Regions from separate parts of the Homo sapiens genome. Here all the other regions are linked to region 3. Evidence: promoter capture Hi-C in 16 types of primary human blood cells and fetal thymus (Javierre and others, 2016). All regions are on one chromosome and are shown on one strand. The core of a region is centred on a gene start or on the middle of the fragment in contact, and the rest is flanking DNA. Distances in the headings are between cores, read along the strand shown. Region 1 overlaps ZNF134 (zinc finger protein 134). Region 2 holds the start of ZNF550 (zinc finger protein 550). Region 3 holds the start of ZNF329 (zinc finger protein 329). Region 4 holds the start of ZNF530 (zinc finger protein 530).

The links. The method cuts DNA at HindIII sites, captures the fragments that hold promoters and counts their contacts. A CHiCAGO score of 5 or more calls a contact.
Region 1: a contact is called between a fragment that was not itself captured here and the fragment with the promoter of ZNF329 in region 3, in 2 of 17 cell types (naive CD4 T cells and non-activated CD4 T cells). The highest score is 5.2, in naive CD4 T cells.
Region 2: a contact is called between the fragment with the promoter of ZNF550 here and the fragment with the promoter of ZNF329 in region 3, in 13 of 17 cell types (total CD8 T cells, naive CD4 T cells, non-activated CD4 T cells and 10 more). The highest score is 13.7, in total CD8 T cells.
Region 4: a contact is called between the fragment with the promoter of ZNF530 here and the fragment with the promoter of ZNF329 in region 3, in 17 of 17 cell types (activated CD4 T cells, non-activated CD4 T cells, total CD8 T cells and 14 more). The highest score is 14.7, in activated CD4 T cells.

What each region holds. Positions count from the first base shown.
Region 1 is chr19:57,617,196-57,619,895 of GRCh38, reverse strand. ZNF134 (zinc finger protein 134) reads right to left here. Exons shown (of 3, transcript NM_003435.5): 2 at 388-484. The coding sequence starts at 427. Among named protein-coding and RNA genes, the nearest start is that of ZNF134, 4.3 kb to the right of the region's middle. The HindIII fragment of the contact is 4,269 bases long and covers 1-2,700 here.
Region 2 is chr19:57,558,544-57,561,243 of GRCh38, reverse strand. It overlaps ZNF550 (zinc finger protein 550), which reads left to right and starts at 1,381. Exons shown (of 4, transcript NM_001397372.1): 1 at 1,381-1,588. The coding sequence starts at 1,562. It overlaps LOC124904781 (a long non-coding RNA gene), which reads right to left and starts at 1,302. Exons shown (of 2, transcript XR_007067357.1): 1 at 1,126-1,302. RefSeq lists enhancers at 1,020-1,129, 74-1,273, 1,760-1,809, 1,251-2,115, 2,260-2,339. The HindIII fragment of the contact is 1,240 bases long and covers 755-1,994 here.
Region 3 is chr19:58,149,422-58,152,121 of GRCh38, reverse strand. ZNF329 (zinc finger protein 329) reads left to right here and starts at 1,333. Exons shown (of 4, transcript NM_024620.4): 1 at 1,333-1,370. RefSeq lists an enhancer at 1,197-1,256. The HindIII fragment of the contact is 7,703 bases long and covers 1-2,700 here.
Region 4 is chr19:57,598,603-57,601,302 of GRCh38, reverse strand. ZNF530 (zinc finger protein 530) reads right to left here and starts at 1,418. Exons shown (of 4, transcript NM_001321981.2): 1 at 1,169-1,418; 2 at 524-575. RefSeq lists enhancers at 951-1,070, 1,161-1,370. The HindIII fragment of the contact is 5,329 bases long and covers 1-2,700 here.

The sequences.
Region 1 (2,700 bases), core at 114-2,613, 530 kb after region 3:
GACCTTGGCTGACTGTGGGTGACAGGTGACTCCTATGCGAAATGTGAGTACAGGCCCAGGAAAATGTGATTAAAAATAAGTAACGTGTTCAGGGACTATTTACAGATATGCACACATCTTATGACACAATAGTGTAAGTGTAGTACAATATTGGAAAGCATCGCAGAGAGAGCTATTGCTCTACTAGAGCCCCTCTGGTAGAGAATGGGAGAAGACAGCCCTGGGTCAGAAGTCAGATTAGAAATGACAAGAGTGTACAGAATGGGGATAAAAAGGTAGAAATAAGTTAGGGCCTCTGGCCTTGGCACTTGTGATGGGCACAACATAGGTTTCCGGAACTACAGGAACCCAGCCCTGAGGTTATGGCGTCCCTCAGCTCCCACTCACCAGGGCCTGTCCAAGCCCCTCCTGCTGTGACTAGAGTCATGCCCTCTCAGGCAGCCAGAGTTCTCTCTCTTGTTACAATTCAACAACCACAGAGGATCTGGAAGATACAAAGCATAGGGGAAAGGTGAAACAGGCTGAGAGCACTAGCCAGAGTAGCCCACCCATGCAAAATTGCAAGAAAACAAATGCTACAAAATGAACCTCAGAAAATTGTCCTGCAGGAACAGTGCAGTGGGCCCACAAGTGGTGACCATGATGACTGAAATTGAGGACACAGGCAGACTCAAGGAAATTACAATTAGAGGAAGCGGGTGGAGCCTGGAGTCCAGAGGTGTCATGAGTGTGGACAGTCACCTGGCCAGGGAGAGGCCAAGCAGAATTCACTGGGTCACCTTAGGACCCCTGACCTCCAAACCCTTCCTGGCAAGGCTTCAGGGCAGCAGGAGTTGAGGAACACAGGGAAGAGAGGGGCCAATGCATCTAGCTGAGCCTAGGCACCCAGGGGACCTATGTGAGGGAATCAGAGAAGAGAGCAGTACCCATGCTCTAGCTATGGAAAGGAAAGAGCAACCCCTAGGGCAAAAAGGAAGAGTAGGACCCAGCCCAGAAAAATGGGATACTGGGGCCTTACCCAGGGAGACTATAAATGCGAAGCACAGAAGCCATTATTTCATAATAGAAGAGTCTCTGAGCCTCATCCAGCAGCTCCCATTCCTCCTAAGAGAAGTAAACAAATAAATCCTTGAAGGTCACATAGCCCTGTGTGAGGTGGACAACTGAGCTTAAGGACAGCCTCTCTCTCCAGGACTCCTTGTCACATCTAACTCAAATGAGATAACAGGCCCTGGTGTGATTGGTGCCTGTTCTCGACTCATATTCCATTAATCATTTTGTCCAGCTCAGAACAGGCAAGTGGACAGATAAAACACCATGGGCCTGGTATGTAGGACCCAACCCTTCTCCTATCAGCCAGCTCCCTGGGGATCAACAGATTATTCCTCATACACAAACCTGAGCTAAGCATTCTTTCAGAAACCCTCCATACCAAAGCTCTGGGCTCATGAATTCACACTCCATCTCCATGTGCACATCACCCTTTTGGCTATACCTCCTTTACATCTATGGACACCCACAACACTGGTACCTCCATGGCTTCCCCACATGCAAATCTGCACACAGCATCCAGAGAATGCTTGGATAATGCATCCAGGATTACATCTGGTCCTGATCAACGGCCACACTGCCATGGGTTGCCCTGAATCCACCTATTAAATCTTCCCCTCCTGGCTCTATTTCATGGGTCAATTCAGCAATCCAGAACCATGTGCAGATCCCAGATAAACTCAGCCCTTTTCTGCTTTGTTGTTGTACTACTGAGGTCAGTCACAGGCTTCTCAACATTTAACTCATTCAAAACCTACACTCACTGGGCACCTACCCCAAGCACAGGGATTCTGCCTACTGACCCAATCTGTCCCTGGGCTAATTCACTAGCTTGACTGAAACTCCACAGGTCCCACCAAAGGTCACCATGGAAGCCTGAGGAGCACATAAAGAGCTGAATAAGCACTGGCTCTGGCCTCACTGCCACCTCACTTCTATTACTACAGTACTTCACCTCACATCCACTCTCTGCCTGGAACGCTTTGCCACCTGCCTGACCCTATTATTCCCCTTCCTCCCAGGGACATTTCCCTCCCTCTTCTAGACTCTAAGATGGCCCCTACCTCTACCCTGCTGTGTCTGCCCTTACAGTGTGCTGATGGCACTGTCACCATGACCTAAAGATTCTCTCTCTAAATTGGAAGCAAAGCTCCATCCTGATCCACATGCTGGCTGCCACCCTGTGGATAGCTCCAACCTGAATCCCTTCTCTGAACTTCAGATCTCTGTGTCCAGCTGTCTACTTGACACCTCCACTCAAGTGTCTTTGGAACATGGTAGATTCCACATAGCCAAACTGCACTCCTGATATTACCTCTGAAAGGTACTCCTACCACCAACTTTGTCACTTCAGTTGATGGCATCTTTATATCTTCTCAGACTAAAAAATCCAGGGTCTTCCTTCACCCCTTGCCTTTTCTTTCTCATCTTCCACATCAGAAAATCTGGTTGGTCCCACTTTAAGAAAAATGATTCAGAATCCATCCACATCTCCCACCTCTACAGCGACCACTCTGGTCCAACCTGAACTGTTGCATTAAGCTCCTCAGTGGTATTCCTTCCTTCATCCTCACTCCCACAGTCTTTTTTCACTGTACAGAGGAAGTTGGTTAAGACCAAAGTCAGATCACTCCCTCCTAGCTCCAAACC
Region 2 (2,700 bases), core at 132-2,631, 590 kb after region 3:
TATAAGGTTAAAGGGTGTTTATACTCACAGTGATATAGGAATAGCACTGGGTGGTTGCAGGAGGATGGAAAAATTCGAACAACAAATAAAAACAAGAACTAGGCAAAGAAACCATAGGATAACAGAAAACCCAAAATAAGAGAAAGAATGGCCAAAATCCCAGTCAGGATGACATGTCCATGACTCTTCTGGGCAAAGCCAAATAAGAGAGAAAGGGGGCAGTAACCAGGTGGGTCCCTGAATTTCCCTCCTTTTCCAGAATACCTAATAATTATTCCACTCTCTAATTAAAGAAACACCCACAAAATAGGAATGCTGTGTGGTCACAGGAGAAGGGGGAAAACATCAAGCTGTTAAAATTAGCTACTCCAACAAGAAGACTGGGCTGATGAGACCTTAACAAACAGGATTGGGGCTAGGCTGTCCCATGACGCTAGATTTGACCCATTTCCTACCCCAGACCTAATTATACACTCATTGCCACATTAAATCACACACCCACCAGTGCCAGGCCAATCCAAGCACGCCCACATTTAGTATAAAAATGGTTGGCACCCCAATTCTAAGAAATTCCCACCTTTTCCTAGAAAAACCTCATGATTATCCCACCCCCTAATTAGAAGAGCCCATAAAATTAGAAACCCAAACTCCATTGTGCATGACCCGCTCTCCCTCGTACGTCCGCATTTCCCTCTTCTCTTGGGAAAAGTACACTCTTCTCAAAAATGTGTACTTTTTCTTCCCAATAAAAGCTTCTTGCCTTTGGCTTCATTTTGACTCATCCCTGCATTCTTTCTCACGATGGTGTCACGAAGCTGGACTCCGGAAGCGGGCGGGGACTCACGGCCCCTGGAGACCTTCCTGAGCCCTGGGCAACACCAGTCCACACAGAGGAGGCAGACGTCCCACAGACGGAACCCCACGAGCATGTCCCGGGAATGGCTCCACGCGGGAAGCGGGGGTCCAGATCCACGCCAGTCCCAGGGACAGTGCCTGGCGTCAGGGTGGAGGAGGACGCAGTAACCAGGCGTAAGATTTTACTGGTACATGGGAATGTCACTGGGTCACTCAGAGGAGGCAAGCGGGGAACCTCGTGGCAGGGCCCCCTTTATCAAACTCGTTTACCTGGGTGCCTGGGCGAGTGCTCACAGCCTGCTTGTAGGGACGTTGAGGCATCCGAATAATAGGAAGTTTTAAAAATTTACAATCCAGTGTGTACACTTGCTCCGCTAAGATCATCTGAGATATACAGAAACATGGTGTGCATAATAAAAAAGGAAAAAGAGCCAAGCCTGGCCTCTTACGGGACAAGACTACATTACCTAGAAGGCAGTGGGCCGGCGCAGGAAAAGGCGTGGCAGGCGACCGCGACACAGGGGCGGGACTTCCGGCCTCGCTGGCGTGGACGTTTGTGGTGGGGCGTGTTGGTCCGCGCTCTCAGAACTGTGCTGGGAAGGATGGTAGGGCGACTGGGGCTCACCTCCGCACCGTTGTAGGACCCGGGGTAGGGTTTTGAGCCCGTGGGAGCTGCCCCACGCGGCCTCGTCCTGCCAACGGTCGGATGGCGGAGACGAAGGACGCAGCGCAGGTGAGCAGACTGGCTCGGCTCCCCGCGGCCACCCGGCCTCAGTGTCCCGGGCCCGACGAGCGGAAGGACGGCGTTTCAGGGTCGTCCTCAGTGCAGTCCCTGCCGTTGCTTCTTAGAGGCCTAGAAGGGGGTCGCGCGGTCCCGGGTCCGGAATGCAGGCCCGCGGTGGCGTGGGGAGCGTCCCCGTTTCTGGGGTGCGCGGCGTTGTGGTATGAAATAGGGCTTTTAGGGTCCCGGAACCCCTCACAGGTGAGAGGAGCGACCGCAGTCCTCCTCGTGGCTCTTCCAACCATGTCCTTTCTCGGGCCTGCGACCTTGAACAAGTCCCGTTACTGTCCTCGTCCTTCATTTTTGCGCGCGCAAAGTAGAAATATTTACTCTTCCCCCCCCCGGGGTTGAGGAAGCTTGAACGGCTCCCTGGGTGATGTGTGTGTGTCCGTCTCAGTGCACAGCACGGTCCGGGGACGTCGCTCAGGATGTTGTTTCCGGAGCTGCTCCCTGGGCCTGTGCTAGGTTTGGAGACTCAACCCCAGCAGGAGTCTGACCCTCTGGCCTCCTTGGCCTCCTGTCTCTACAACACGAAGGGCAGCGGCTGAAAGAGGTGGGAGGAGCGTTTCTGCGGTTGCTGCTATGCCAGGGCAGAAAAGGTGGTAGGGCAGGCTGAGGAATTTGTCTTTCAGTTTAGGGCAAGGGACGCTGGGTTGCAACTAACAGTATATTTTCCTGTTTAAGACATTTAGTTACAGGTGAAAAACGAGTCCATTAAAATGTTCAGTGGCGATGGTATGCAGGATGTAGTGTCCCTTTGGAGATAACACATGAGGCCCAGGGTTACTCTCTAGCAGTCACTCTGATTACTTTCATGATAGCCCAGATTACTGTCAGCTCCTGTCGTAGTTGTTAATTTCTCATCCACCTCTCCCTCCTTTGCTTTATTTCTGACTCCCTCTGGTGTCCGCTGCTTAAAGAGGTCTCGTCTGTTGCACCGTTTAAAGCTGACCAGAGTCTCTTTGGTCTCCTTGCTCTGTTTTCTTGTCATCTGAATCTTTAAGGCCATCTGACATTGCCTTACTCATTTATTTAGTTGCCTGTTTAGGATCTTTTTCCAACCC
Region 3 (2,700 bases), core at 84-2,583:
TGCTTTTGCTAATTGATTTCCAAGTTGCTCCAACCATCACTATTGTGAGTGACAATTTAATCACTATTATGGCTTAGAATTTTTTTTCTAATTTTCATTTCAAAATTGTGAAGTATTTCAACCTGCGGAGAGGTTCGGAGAGTAATAGAATAATCTATAAATAATAAAGATGACACCCATGTATCATCGAGATTTTACCTGTGTTAACATGTAGTCAGATTTTCAGGTTTTGATTTGTTTTTTCCTATCAAGCATCACAGGTGTAACTGAGGTCTCCTTTGTCTCCTCCCCAACTCTTTCCCCTCAGTTGCCACTTTCTTGAGGTTGGACAATCTATCTGGTCCATGTTATTGTTACTTTACTACTTATGTATCAATCTCTGTATAACATATAGATTTTGTGTCTTTTATTTCCAGGTAAGTTGTATCATGTGGATAAGTGCACAGTTTACTTTTCGAACTGTTTTTGGAGAACTGTCTATCTTGTATATAAGTTAGTCCTTTTTTTTTTTTTTTTTTTTGAGACGAAGTCTCCCTCTTGTCCCCCAGGCTGGAGTGTGATGGTACGATCTCAGCTCACTGCAACCTCCGCCTCCCAGGTTCAAGTGATTCTCTTGCCTCAGCCTCCCGAGGAGCTGGGATTACAGGCGCCTGCCACCACGCCTAGCTAATTTTTGTATTTTTAGTGGAGACGGGGTTTCACCATGTTGGCCAGGCTGGTCTCAAACTCCTGACCTTAGGTGAGCCCAGTCCGTTTGTTTTAACCACCCCCTATTGCTCCGTTGCACATACCACAGTTTCTCTCTTCCCTGTCAGTAAATATTTAGGCTTCCCCATGCTAAAGTTTAAGAGAACCACTGAAAGAATGAAAATGTGTAGTTTTCATTTTCAACCGGCTATTGTTACTACAGAGGAAAGTTACTGGCTTTGTTTACATTTCTTAGATCTAGTCATTTTAACAAATTAGGCCTCCCAAAATGCTGGGATTACAGGCGTGAGCCACGCACCCAGTAAATAATTATATTGCCAATGAATAATGAGTGTACTTATTCTGAATTTTAACATTATTATCTCAAAAAAAGATTATAGATAAAGAAATATTTTAGGAAATTATGCAGTAAATAAAAGGAAGGCTCTATAACAAAAGAATGATAGCATCGGGTTAAAAATCAGAGGAGACCATAGGAGAAAGTAAATGCCTGCGCGTCCGCCCCGAGGCAAGTCCACGCCAGGGTAATGAATAACCCGGTACCCGCGGCCGCCCCAGCGTTGGGCGGGGGAAGCTCGGGGACTCCGCGCACGCGCACATCCTTGTCCCGGCAGCCGCGCAAGCGCAATCGCCCGGAACATGGCTGCCGCCGGCCGCCAACCGTAAGTGCCGACGCATCCCTGAGCCCTGCGCTGCCTCCGTTTCCTGCGGAGGGAAGTCTTGGCGGGTGGAGGTCCGCCGGGTCCTTGTGGGGCGGCGAGGGGCGCGTCCGCGGGTGGGTTTCACCTGGGTGGTGGGCATGTCGGGCCCGCTAGGGCGAGGGTCTGGCCAGGGGCGTAGTTCTCCTGGTGGGTGGGGACGCTCCGTGGCGATTGGGGTCACTCCTCTGAGGACGAGGTCGCTCCGGGGCTGGTCTGGACGCCCCCGCTCTTTCCTTAGCGTCACCCGTGAGTTCCGCGCTCGCATCTCTAGCCCGCCCTCCCATAGAGACTGTTTTGCCACGCCTGCTGGGTGTCCTGGTCCGTCTCCGGGGGTAACCCCCGAGTCTGCAGCTTTTCTGTCAGGTGTGAGGGGCAGTGTAGGCTTGGGTCGGCCTCCGGCTGAATTGGCGGCCGTGAGCCAGTGGGCTGAGCCGCTTCCCCTTGAGTCTCGAAGGTGTTAGATCACCTGTGTGTTTTTCCATTTGATATTTGCAAAATCATGTTTTACTGCAATTCTCAGTGAGGGCCGCATTTTTGCACGTGTTTAGTGACCATTTTGCTGTCTTTTCCCTTGGTTTAGTGGCATATTTCCTTTGTGCAGTCTTCCAGTCTCAATATTTTATGACATAAAATGTTGGTTTAGATAGAGAAGCTGAAAGACTTGTGCAGTGAACGACCCGGTTAACGTCTGCTGAACTTACTGTATCCCTTATCTTTCCTTCTGTCCATCCTTTCAGCCATTCATTAATCCACCTATTTTTGGAAACATTTCAAAGTAAGTTGCAGATATCACAACACTTCTCCCTCAAACACCTCACTATGCTTACCATGAATTAGAGTTCAGTAGTGCTTTTTTAAATTTTTTGAGCCAAAATTGACTTTCAGTGAAATGCACAGATATTCCCTGTACCATTGATGAATTTTGACAAATGCAACCTAAACCTTTATTAAAATTACCATCAGCCTGAAAAGGTCCTTTATTTTTTGCCAAGTTAAAAAATTTGGCTATAGGAACTTGGGCTTGTTGAAGTACGTTTTGAATACCCAGTTTTTGTCTGTTTTTTCTTTTTTCCCACAGCAAGTGACTTTCCTCCATTCTACTGCTTGTTTACCTCTCTCTTCACCCAACTTTTCATTTTGAAAAGTTCCGCATTTGCATAGAAGTTGCAGGAATAGTTTAACACTTCTAAAACCATCCAGATTCTAAAATTATTAACACTTTTTGCCACATTAGCTTTATCTTTATCTTCTCCCTGCCTGAGACACATGCATAGGTGTTACCAGAAAGGGG
Region 4 (2,700 bases), core at 169-2,668, 550 kb after region 3:
ACATCATCTACACTCACCTGGACTATTGCAGTAGTCTCCTCTTTCCTCTTTGGTATTGCTACCAACTCCCTTAAACCCACAGTCTGTTGTCTGTGCTCAGCCACAGGAGCCTCATGAGGCCTGGGGAAGATCACCTCCCTCTTCTGCTCCAAATCTTCATTGCTGCCATCATCTCCAGAACAAAGACATCTGAGACAGCCATTTAGTTTCTAACTCCTGTACCTCTGCTCTCTGTTCCCATGAGAAGGAAATGAGACTTGAGGTTCTCTTAACCAGCTCAGCCTCACCTCCAAGCAGCTCCAAACACCTGTACTTATCTCTGGGACAAACTTCCACATTCATCCTATTATTTGCCAGCAACAGGCACCACCTCATATAATACTCACCCTGGACATATTTTTGTTCAGAGTCCCTAGGCTCAAGGCCTGGAAAAGCGGTAAGTAAAGAATCCCAGGTCACCACAGTCCCAATCCTAGAGATCCCATTGCTGGAATCAATGAGCTTCTGGATTTCCTCCACTTACCCTTGTAGGGTCTTCAAGTGCTTCTTACGGACCTGTAAGTACTAGTGGCAATCTGTGGGAGGAAACATGTTCTGAGAGGCAGGTGACCAAAGTGTGGCTCCATGGACTTCTGGTTCCAATGTGGAACACCAGAGCCAGGTGTCCAGGGATGACTGCTTTGTATCTGGGTGTCAGTCCTTGGTGCTGACTTTTACCAGCTTTGTGACCTCGTAAAAAGACTAGGTCCCTCCATGCCTGCTATCATCACTGCCCTTCCAGCGCGTTCCTCTGAACAGCTTTTGTGAAACTTTTAGAAGCGTGACTGGGGCCGTGCCCCTCTTCTGTCCTACGCGCTGTGGCCCTCAGTGTGCTGGTGAAACTCAGTGGGGCCAATGCAGCGCGGCGCTGCCCCACCCTCTGCTACCTGCACGCGTGAGGCCGGCCTGGGTCTCCCCAGCCTCCCGGCTCAGGCGCAGCTCCAAGCTGTTGCCCGCGCAGCCCCCTGACCGTGTCGCTCTCCCGCTCCCTGCCACACTACCAGAAACGAGATCCAGCACCAGCGCCTCACTGTGCCGGACAGTGCGGTCCGGGCTGCAGAAAACCCTTCACGCGTCCCTCAGTTTCGGGTGGGGAGGGCAGAGGAGGCCGGGAGGACGCAGCGCTCACCTGGGTCGGGGCCCTCAGTGCCGCCGCCATCGGACTCTGGGCGGAGCGGGCCGGGAGCGGTGGACGATCCGGGCGGAGACAAGAGCAAAGCTGTCACCACCGCCGGCGACCGTCAGGCCCCGGCTGTGCAGCTGAGAAAACGACTCTCCTCGCGCCTTCTCGCTGTCAGCACCTAGGTCCAGATCCGGCACCCGCGGATGGAACTGACACAAGCCAAAGTGCCCGCCACAGGGAGGACGCCGGAAGTTCCGCTCCGACAAGTTGGACAGAGCGGAAATGTCCCTCCCCTGAGCCTCATTGGCTCCACGCCAAGAACCTGGCTCACGGGCCTCTGGGTAATGTAGTTCTCACCGCTTCTTGGGCTGGCAGAGGTCGCCCTTCTCCTGGACCTCAGGGAGGAATGACCCCGTTGCTATGGAGAAAGGTGGAGGGGAAGGCTGAGAGGTGGTGTCTCCAGCCTCCTTGGACAAGGGAGGAGCTTCGCTGCTTTTTTAAGGTACCATACAGAGATTTTTGGAGGGTATTGTGTACAACTAGTCACCTAGGTAGTCAGAGTTATTCAGATACAAAATGCCTCTACCCTTGGCGAGAGCCTAGTAAACATTACCTTCTTTCTCCACACATTTATGTAAAGTAGAACGTTAGAGTCAGCTTTGTGAGTTTCATTATGCTCAGTAAGGAATAAGGGAAATAGAGTTTACATAGCGCCATGACAGGAATGATAAAACATCCGTTAGATCGCACCGAAGCTGGAGGACGAAAGAGGAATTTTGTCTCACAGAAAATGCCTCTCCTGCCTGTGTAATCGGTGAGTGTGTCTAGCCCTGTAAGGAACAGTGTTGTATTCATATAATATTTCTTCCTCCATATTCTTAGATATGCTTCTTTTAGGATTGTAGCAACTTTCTAAACAGAAGAGCCACTTAGCATATGCCATTTTAAAGTAGAACAGTGTCTGTAGTGTTCACAGTCAGAGCACTTGTGCAAAGGGGACATCAGAATACCAGAATAAAGGTTTGGGACACCTAGCTTTCATCTCTTTGATGGGAAATTTTGATCATTGATACTGTTACTGCAGGGACAGTGCTTGCATGGGGAGTTGAGATCATCTTAGAAAAACAGTTGTGAAATGAAAATTACTGAAACCTATTGTATTAGTCAGGATTCTCCAGAGAAACACAGAACCAATAGGATACATAGATGTACAAGAGGGGATTTATTATGGGACTTGGCTCATCCAGTTATGGAGGCTAAGAAGTCCCAGGATATACCTTTTGCAACCTGGTAAGACACGAAGGTGGGTGGTATCATTCAGTCTGCATCTGAAGGCCTGAAAACCAAGGGAGCCTATGGTGAAATTCCCAGTTGGAGGCTGAAGGCCTGAGAACTGGGTGAGGGTCATTCTTGTATGTTCCAGAGTCCAAAGGCCCAAGATCCAAGAACTTTAATGTTGGAAAACAGAAGGTGGATGATCCAGGGCAAGAAGAGAGTAACTTGCTCTTTCTCTGCCTTTTTGTTCTATCTTGGCTCTC